Linked DNA regions of Homo sapiens: region 2 is linked to region 1. The links are contacts of gene promoters, found by promoter capture Hi-C in blood cells and fetal thymus (Javierre and others, 2016). All regions are on one chromosome and are shown on one strand. Each heading gives the region's core, a stretch centred on a gene start or on the middle of the fragment in contact. The rest is flanking DNA. Distances are from core to core; before and after follow the strand shown. Region 1 holds the start of KCNS3 (potassium voltage-gated channel modifier subfamily S member 3). Region 2 has its middle 260 kb from the start of KCNS3.

Evidence for each region. The method cuts DNA at HindIII sites, captures the fragments that hold promoters and counts their contacts. A CHiCAGO score of 5 or more calls a contact.
Region 2: a contact is called between a fragment that was not itself captured here and the fragment with the promoter of KCNS3 in region 1, in 1 of 17 cell types (megakaryocytes). The highest score is 5.8, in megakaryocytes.

What each region holds. Positions count from the first base shown.
Region 1 is chr2:17,877,410-17,881,404 of GRCh38, forward strand. KCNS3 (potassium voltage-gated channel modifier subfamily S member 3) reads left to right here and starts at 1,258. Exons shown (of 3, transcript NM_002252.5): 1 at 1,258-1,397. RefSeq lists silencers at 869-1,028, 1,039-1,238, 1,329-1,378. The HindIII fragment of the contact is 4,070 bases long and covers 1-2,366 here.
Region 2 is chr2:18,134,603-18,139,139 of GRCh38, forward strand. No RefSeq gene overlaps it. Among named protein-coding and RNA genes, the nearest start is that of KCNS3, 260 kb to the left of the region's middle. The HindIII fragment of the contact is 1,058 bases long and covers 1,446-2,503 here.

The DNA.
Region 1 (3,995 bases), core at 8-2,507:
CAAGATACGGTGAGGATTACTGCCTTTTTCTGATTTCCAACGTGGGTTTTTCATTAAGCAAAGAACAATTAGAAAACCCACACATAACATAGGGTATTCAGTAAGTTCAGGAAAGTGTTTTCCACCATCTCTTTGCCCCCATTCCCTCCCCAGCGCTTGGCTCAAGGTCTGGAGCTTGAATCTGCATCGTCTTCCTAGGTGCTTGCCTGAGGTGAGTGGTCAGCGGGTGCTGGCTTGGGGGCAGCTGGCAGGGCGTATGCTGCGGGTAGGAACCCAGGGAACACTGGGCGCCTTAGCTTGGAGCAGCTGGCTCCGAGGAATTGTTCCACGTCTGCACAACTTAAAAATCTGCAGTTTGGGGGCGGGAGGGGGAGCGCGGGGGTGGGTCCCGAAGCGTCCCATTTCTCCTCCTGGCTGTTAACTGAGCGCTCTCGCTCAGTGCAGCGAGGCCAGCGATGCCTTCTGGACCACACGCTGTCCTCGCCGAGGTCCTGGTTTGTTCCTCAACGTCGGCTGAAGGCATCGTCCCCTGACTTCCTCTTCCATTCGTCCTTCCGAAAGGGGACCCGACTGGTTCCTCTTCTACATATGAGGCGCATCTGCTTGGTGCAAATGTCCAAGCACCTCTTCTGACTCGGTGAGTGGAGGAATAAGACAAAGCATCTTGTTCTGCACTGTGCCTGAGTCTTCAGGCAGCGGGACCGATGGCAAACATTGGCAGGAACTGGAGCTATATGTACTCTCCTTCGCACTTTGTTTTAAAACAAGTTTGGGCCTCGCGATTTCCTGAGGAAATCCAGGCAAATTAGCAAAGTGTCGCTTGGGCCGCGACTTTAGAAAGGCGGTTGCCCCAGCCGCCGGGGCCGCGGGGGAGGTCATCTTTTTCCCGCAGGGCCACGGCGCTTCCGGCCCAGGAGGGCGCGCAGGTGGGAGGCGCGGGGCGCGCTCCTGGTCCCACCCGGACAGCGCCTGCCGCTCCGGGGTGACTCTGCACTTGGGCCTGGGCGGGGGCGCGCGGCCGGCAGGGCAGCATCTAGGTCTATGGGTCTGTCCGCCTGTCTGGCGGTCGGAGCCCCGCAGTCCTCAGCCGCCCGCGCCCTCGGCCCGGGGCGCCCGGCTGCGGGCCCGAAGCGAGGGGCTGGCGGAGCTGCGACCAATGGGGCGGCGGCCGAGCGGCGGGCCCCGCCCCGTCCCGTCCGGCCCCGCCCCGCCCGCAGCTCCCGGGAGCCTCGCTCTAGCGGGGCGGGACCGACGGACAGACCGGCCGACGCGGGCCACCCCGCTCTCCTCGCCGCCGCGGCGGCAGGCGCGGGGCCGCGCCGCGAGGCCTGATCCCTGCAGCGCGGGCAGGCGGCGTCGCAGAGCGGAGCTAGCTGGATGCGTCCGGACTCCTGCAGGTACCTGGCTGGCGTCCCCACCTCCCTGCGCGCTCCGGAGACTTCTCCGGGCGACCCTGCAACTTTACCGCGCCTTCCCCCACCTTTTGCTGCCCCAGTCTCCTGTGGTCCAGGTCGCGGGTGCACGACCCCGAGGGTCTACGGCCGCAGAGCACTTTCCGTCCTTCTGGGCGTCTGGCCCGCGGCGCCCGCATCCTCTGGTCCCCAGAGCCCGCCGTCGCTGGAGCCCTAAGGCTCCGCCTGTTGCGTGAACTGCGGGCTGTTGAAGCGGTGGCTGGGTTGATTTGAAAGCCTCGGGGAAGGTATTTAGGATCAGCTTTCGGGGAGTGGGGTGGGCTATGGTCAGGGGGAGGACCACCTGGAGGCGGGAGAATCGATGAGCCGAAGAAAGGCGGCACCTCGCGTAGGGGCATCCCCGGGGCGTTTCCTTGGCCGGGAAGCCGTTCCTTCCCTTCCTCGAGAGGAGGCGCTTTCCTGGCGCTTGTAAATGCTTCCCGGGCCGTCTGCTCCGCCTTCTTTGTCATTCCTCCCCTCCCCTTTGCCCTGCAGCTGTGCTAGGCGCCCCGCGACAGTTGCAGGGAAGAGCGAACCCAGGGCCCTTGCTCTCGTGCAGCGCTGCGCCCTGGGTGGGGACGGCGTGAGGCTTGCAGCGCAGGTGTGGAGTCACTTGCGGACTCTGCGTTTGGATCAGTGGCAGTGGTGGGGAAGGGTCACCCCGGGGTCAGGAACTCCTCTTTTTTTTTTCGCGCCTTTCTGGGTGGCTGCCCGACCTCCTGAGGCACCTTGGCTAGCAAGCGAGCCAGTCTTGCCGGCAGGGGCCGCGGCGAGCCTGGCTGGGCGCCTTTCGCATTGCAGGGCTTGTCCTGCACCCCCAACCCCGCTCTGTCCCTTCTCGTTCATTTGGAGAAAGGAGCACCTTTTGCATTCTTGATGTCTCCCCCCGGTTTTGTCTGGGGAGACCGAGCCGAAAGCTTCACTCGGGTGGCCCGCAGCAGGGGCAGAGGACAGCAAAGAGCTACCTCCACCTGCCAAAATGACCCAGGGGCCCTGGTTTGGTGCCAAGGCGTGAAGTGGGGGGAGGGGCGGTAGGTGTTCCTTACGTTCCTGCCGGAGAGTAGCTTTGTGGTTGGCCCGGAGCCTTCGTTCGGGTTTTTTGTCTTTCACCCTACCCTCTGAAAATACTGGAGCAGATGAGTACAAACAGTTCAGAAGCCTTTCCTGTTTCTTTCCCTGTATTTACTCAAGCGATTTGCGTAACCATTCACTTGGAACTGTGTAAGTCACTCCTAGTTGCCCCCCTTCTTAGACTATTTGCAAATACCTGCCCAGGTAAACAGGAAGCACGCACCTATCTCTTAGCTGAAGGCATATGCCCTCGTGCTTTGTCTTCCCTGCATATCTGGAGCCGAAGAGGTGGCTTTGATTCTCTAGCTGAACTTGGTGTAATGTGCAGGCTCCACTTCTTACCTGGGTGGTGACCTTCTTGAGGAGATTGACTCGTTCAGTATGCATTTCCAACCAGCCCGCCATGGGCCAGGCCCCAGGATGCACTCGGGGACAGACAGCAAATGGATGATATAATTTCTGCACCCAGTCTAGTCTGTTCTTTCTTTCTCACCAGCTTCCCTTCTTCTCTTGTTCTAATATTATGTTTGTCGTTTCTGAACTAGGAATTGTCAATATTGGGATCCGGAGAAGGTCATATGAAGGTGCCATAGAACTCTGAATCCAAAGCATGTTGTGAATATACTAAGGAGACTTGCGGGATCAGTATTAATTGAATCTTTTGTCTGACCCATAATTGCCTGAATAGAGCCATTGATGAATGCAGCTACGCTAAGGTTTTGCTGGTCAAGTGTATGAGGGCAAATTGGGAGGTCAGAAGCAGTCTTTGTTCTGTTCTGAAATATTATAATATTAAAAATCCAAAGCTCTGGAGCTTGAGTTTGCCAGCAAAGCACCAACTGAGTATCATCATCTTCTTTTAAGAAGGAAGGGGGAGAGTGGGAACTGCAGCTCCCTCCTGTCTTCAGTGGGTTTTGCCCTTCACTGTAATTCTTCACAGACGTGCATCCCTCTGTTCTACCACCCATCTCAATCTGCCCTGTGTCTGGCATTTGCCATTGGAATGTGTGTCAGCTTTGAGAGAGTAGGCACCACAGGGTTTTCCTCCTCCTTTTCCTTCTATTTTTTAATAGATAACATTTATTAGCTGCATACTATATATCAGATACTCTGCTAGGCACTTTTCCAGGCATTATCTCATTTAATTCCCATAACAACTGCATGAGGATGTGATGCTTGCTTTCTTCACTGCAGTATTGCTGTGGGAGCCAGCAGTAGATGGAACCCCCCAGGTGCATGTTGAGTCAGATGGGAGGCCAGTGGGAAATGGTGGGCCTGAGGTCTCACTAGGAGGAAGGACGACTCTGCAGGGTATGTTGAAGCAGAGAAGGTGGGTGTGTTTATTGACTCTGCTTATCAGGTGTCAGGAAAGTGCATCTTCCAGAGTGCCACCTGTGTGAAATACCCACAAAGAAACATCATAGAGAAGAGAATAGGATGTGGGGACCCAGTTTCCAGCTGTGATATCTATTT
Region 2 (4,537 bases), core at 725-3,224, 260 kb after region 1:
GGCTCCCTACCCTGGCACTTCTTTCCCTTCACAACAGTGGACTCTCCACTCTTGTCAACGCTTCTTTTATTTGGTACTTATGTCAACAGTTAGAACTCTCACAATCAACCTCAATCTTCAAAACTGCTACTGCCCTGGGAAGCCACTTTATTCCTTCTTTATAACAGGGAACTAAGAGTGCATCTATCTATTCCTTTAAATTTTATCTTGTCTGTTTTCATCCTGTTGGTGAAGATATTTTTTGTTAATTTTAACTCCAACATCAAATATAGTCACAGTATTTTCCAGCTTTATATCACGTGAAAATGTGATCTTCTGGTTCCCATGTCTTCATCCAAGACCTCAATAAAGATGACAGATGGAACAATGGCAGAGACTTGTGGCCCATTACTGGAGACTTGCTTTAAGACTAGCATCCAGGCATTTATTCTGAACTCTGGACAGTTTAATCAGCTGCAACTTTCCCCAAAGTTATCATTAGAAAGCTCACATTCCTCGATTTGCCATCTTCTTAATTGAAGTGGCATCCGTGTCAGCTACTGAGTTAGGTCTGAGCATAAGATAGTAAATAAGGCATAATCACTTCCTAAATTTGCTAAAGTTTTGACCTAGAAAACAGATTTTCACAGGGTTCACCCTAATTCAGTATGGTGTTACAGGTTCTCTGATAGAATTGAATACAGCGACTTGAGGAAATACATATTATGGGAGCCCAGTCTAGTCTTGGGGTAGGTGGTGAAGTGGAGTCATAGGGAGAAGCTTTTCAGAAGCAATAATATCTGTCCTGAGGCCTGAAGGAGGAACAAGAGTTGGGAGGATGGGGGAAAGGGAAAAAGCAGGAGAAATAATGTACCATGGGAATGCTGCTGGAGCTCTGAGAAGATGCAGGTGCATTATGATTCTGGAACAGGTAGCTGCTCAGTATATGCTAATTAAGATGGATTTAACCTTATGACTCCATCAGAAAAAAGGAAGTGAATTAAAAATAATAGATGAATGAGGCTAAAACCCTTTAAGTACCAAAACACCAGAGAAGAAAGCTGTTTCTAGTTCGAGAGAACTCAAGGAAAGAGGCTTTAGAGGAAAAATGAGCTGCTTAGAGTTAAGTAAGGATAGCAAATGACACACTTGATTTCAAATGTGAAATTGCTAAAATAAACCTTATAAGAAAGAATCTCATCAAGAATTTTAAAGAGAGAAGCACCTTCTTTGATGTGATCTATCTGATTTGGTATGTCACATCCAGTGGAGTGAATGCAGTGTGTGAGATGATATCACTTTTGGTTGGAGAGTCCTGTGCAGAATTCAACTCCTCACCTTCACAGCCCAGGCCTTTCCATGCTTCTGAAGTCTGAATACGTGCACTTTGTCCTGCCATTAGATGACTCTATCTATGTCTTAAATTCTCCACAAGAAGTGGTACCATGTTGTGGTGTTGACTATAAAGCTTATCATCAGGGAATCTGGATTTGAGTAGGCCCACCCTACCGCATCCTGTGTTGTGTGTTGTAGCTATTGCAGAATATTGAGGGTTGTTGTCCCCACAACTGTCACACTATTGCTTTTTTTTGTTTTAGCTCTTAGACAGATATGCCACCAAACCCAGAATTAGAAAAGAGTGATGTTTCTAGCTCCTTATTTTCTTTATTTTCCCGTAAGAATTTGCTAAGTGCTCACCAGAGTCTAGATACTATGCTTGTCCCGGGACAACAGGATGAATTAAATAGAATCTTAGAATAATTGTAATGCCTTGTAAATATAGCCACAGTGGCACATACCAGGTAACAAATGGAGAGTATTATTTGCCTGGTCAAAGATGGTGGAAGAGGCACAGTTAGAGGCAGGAATCACGTAGGGACAGAGTTTCAAATTTTGGGCATGAACTCAATGAAGAGACATAAGCAGCCATGTAACCATGCTCCAAACACCACTTCCTACATTACTTCTGGAATGCGCTTTCATTAAGTATGCTGTTTCTTAAAAGCATCTCACTCCTGGGCATTGGGACAAATACATGATTCTTGAATATAATGTGTCTTGATTTATTTCCTATCTTTTCAGCAACAAAAAAGTAATAATTCTATGCTTTTAAAAAACGAGTTTAAGATTATATAGTGGCAGAAAGATTTTTAAAATCCCACCCAGATGAATAGAAATTCCACAATAAAGAGTATATTTAGATAGCAAAACCATTTAGGAGCAAGTTGTTGAATATTAAATGATGCCGAGAAAAGACACATCTGCCTTTGAAGTTTGAAAATATCACTTCATATGCTTTATGGAGCTTAAACTATTTGAATAAAAATGAAATATCTCTTGGCTGGAAAAGATATCCCTGTGGTCTGATATTATTTCCTTAGGACCACAACCGAGAGGGAAAAGGAGGCAACTCGGAAGGCAGTTTTTTTTTCGTCTGTATTTCCTGCTGGGTGAGATGCTGAGAAGAAAACCAGGAAAGAGGATGTGGGGCAAAGTTTTGCTTAAGCGGGGGAACAAAAAGCAAAGCTTAGAGTGTGTGACAAGAATTTTTCTCCAGGAGATTAGTAGTTACATTCTTTGTAATCTCTCTCTGTCTTTCTACGTTTTCTAAACTGTGCAAGTCTCTCCTCAAGGGCAGGATTTAAATTACACAGTTGTTTTTTTTTTTTTAAGAGCAACATTGATTTAGCCTAAGTCTGTTTGGCATAGCTTAAAAATGTTGCTCTGCTAGGACTTTAATGATGACACTGCTGAAATATTTTGCAATACTAGGAGATTATATTCTATACAAATTGGGCATGATTCTAAAATTTCATCGTTTTTGCCAATTTTTATGCCCCAAAGACTCAAAGTCATTTGTCAAATAGTCTTGTATGTCTTACTGCAAAAACTAATTAGAAAACTGTAGTTATTTGGGAATGGCTAAAAAAAAAGAATGTATAACATTTAATGTAATGTCAACAAGTTTTTTTTAGATCTCTCACTGAATATATTTTAGTTTTTTGCTTTACTAATGAAAAATATTTTAACAATAAATCTAAACGTTCTCAGAAAAAGGTCTAACAGCTTTTAGAGAGAAAGCAAACAAAAATGAGTTAGACCTCAAATGAAAAGGTCAAAAGAAACAGGTTTGGTGAAAACATTTATCCATATTAAGTGAGTTTTCATTTAGAGAAATACATTGAGAAATGTTCAAAATGTTTTCTGGGAATTTTTGTTTGTTTCTGAGACAAGGTCTCAGTCTGTGGCCCAGGCTGGAGTAAAGTGGCATGATCGTAGCTCACTATAACCTTAACTCCTAGGCTCAAGCAATGTTCCTGCCTCAACCTCCCAAGTACCTAAAACTGTAGGCACATACCACTGTACTTGGCTAATTTTTAAAATTTATTTTTTGTGAGGTAGGGTCTCCCTCCGTTGGCCAGGCTGGTCTCAAACTCCTGCCCTGGATCCATCCTCCCACTTTGGGCTCCCAAAGTGCTAGGATTACAGGTGTGAGCCACTGTGCCCAGCTGTTTTCTGGGAGTTTCATTAATTCTTGATGTCTTATCAGCAGTCAATTTATTTACAGAGTTGTGCCTTTGGGTCACTTTTGAAAGGCCTGGAAGCTGTTTGCAGATTGGGCTCAGAGTAAGGAAGATTACCAGAACTGGGCCCTGTGTCCTTGCCCATCAGCAGGCACCAGGACTCTGTCCTAACCACTGCTGTCAATGACACCCCCACCTCAGGGGGATTAGGAGTAGAATGGACTTGAGAAGGAAGTTCTAGAAACCCAGCTTCAAATCCCAGTTCTCTACCAAACACACACAGGTGCTCCATCCTAGAGGACTCTGGGAGGTGCCCTTCCTGTCTAATCACTCTTAGCAGCTCCCACAGCCTTCATTTCCTCATCCTCACTCATTCCTTTATAGTTTAAAATCTGGCTGCCACTCTCTGAAATCTTTACTTGAAAGTTGGCCAGGCTTTTTTATTCCTCAAAGCAATAGCCCTCACTATGTCCTTGGGCTCCATGTTGTCCATGGTTGGCAGCATCTCTCCTTCCCACGCTGGACTCCTTCTCTTCCTAAGGCCTGTGGGAAACCTTGCCATCCTCAATTTCTTCCTCCCTCCCACTTCTCCTTTCTTCCTTTTCCTATCCCCTCAGGCAGGCAGTTACTGGAGCTTTGATTCTCAGATCTCTTCTTTCTGGCCTCTTCAACATCAATCTTTACTTCTATCATTACAAATATTGGGTATTGATTGTGAACGGTTCTGAAATTTCTGTCTCCAGTCCCAACTCTCCCTTGATTATTTTATATCTCCACATGGATGCCCCACTGACAGCTCAAGCACAACAGATCTCAAACTGAATTTATCATCTCTCTTTTCCAAACTAGCTCTTCCTCTTGACTTCCTTGTGTCTACTGACACCATCATCATGAAACTACATAAGCCTTTTGAATTCTTCCTGCTGCTTCCTTCAATAGTTTTCACAGTGTCTGTTTCTTCTTTTTTTTAAAACATAAATTATTTATTTATTTATTTATTTTTATCATACTTTAAGTTCTAGGGTACATGTGTA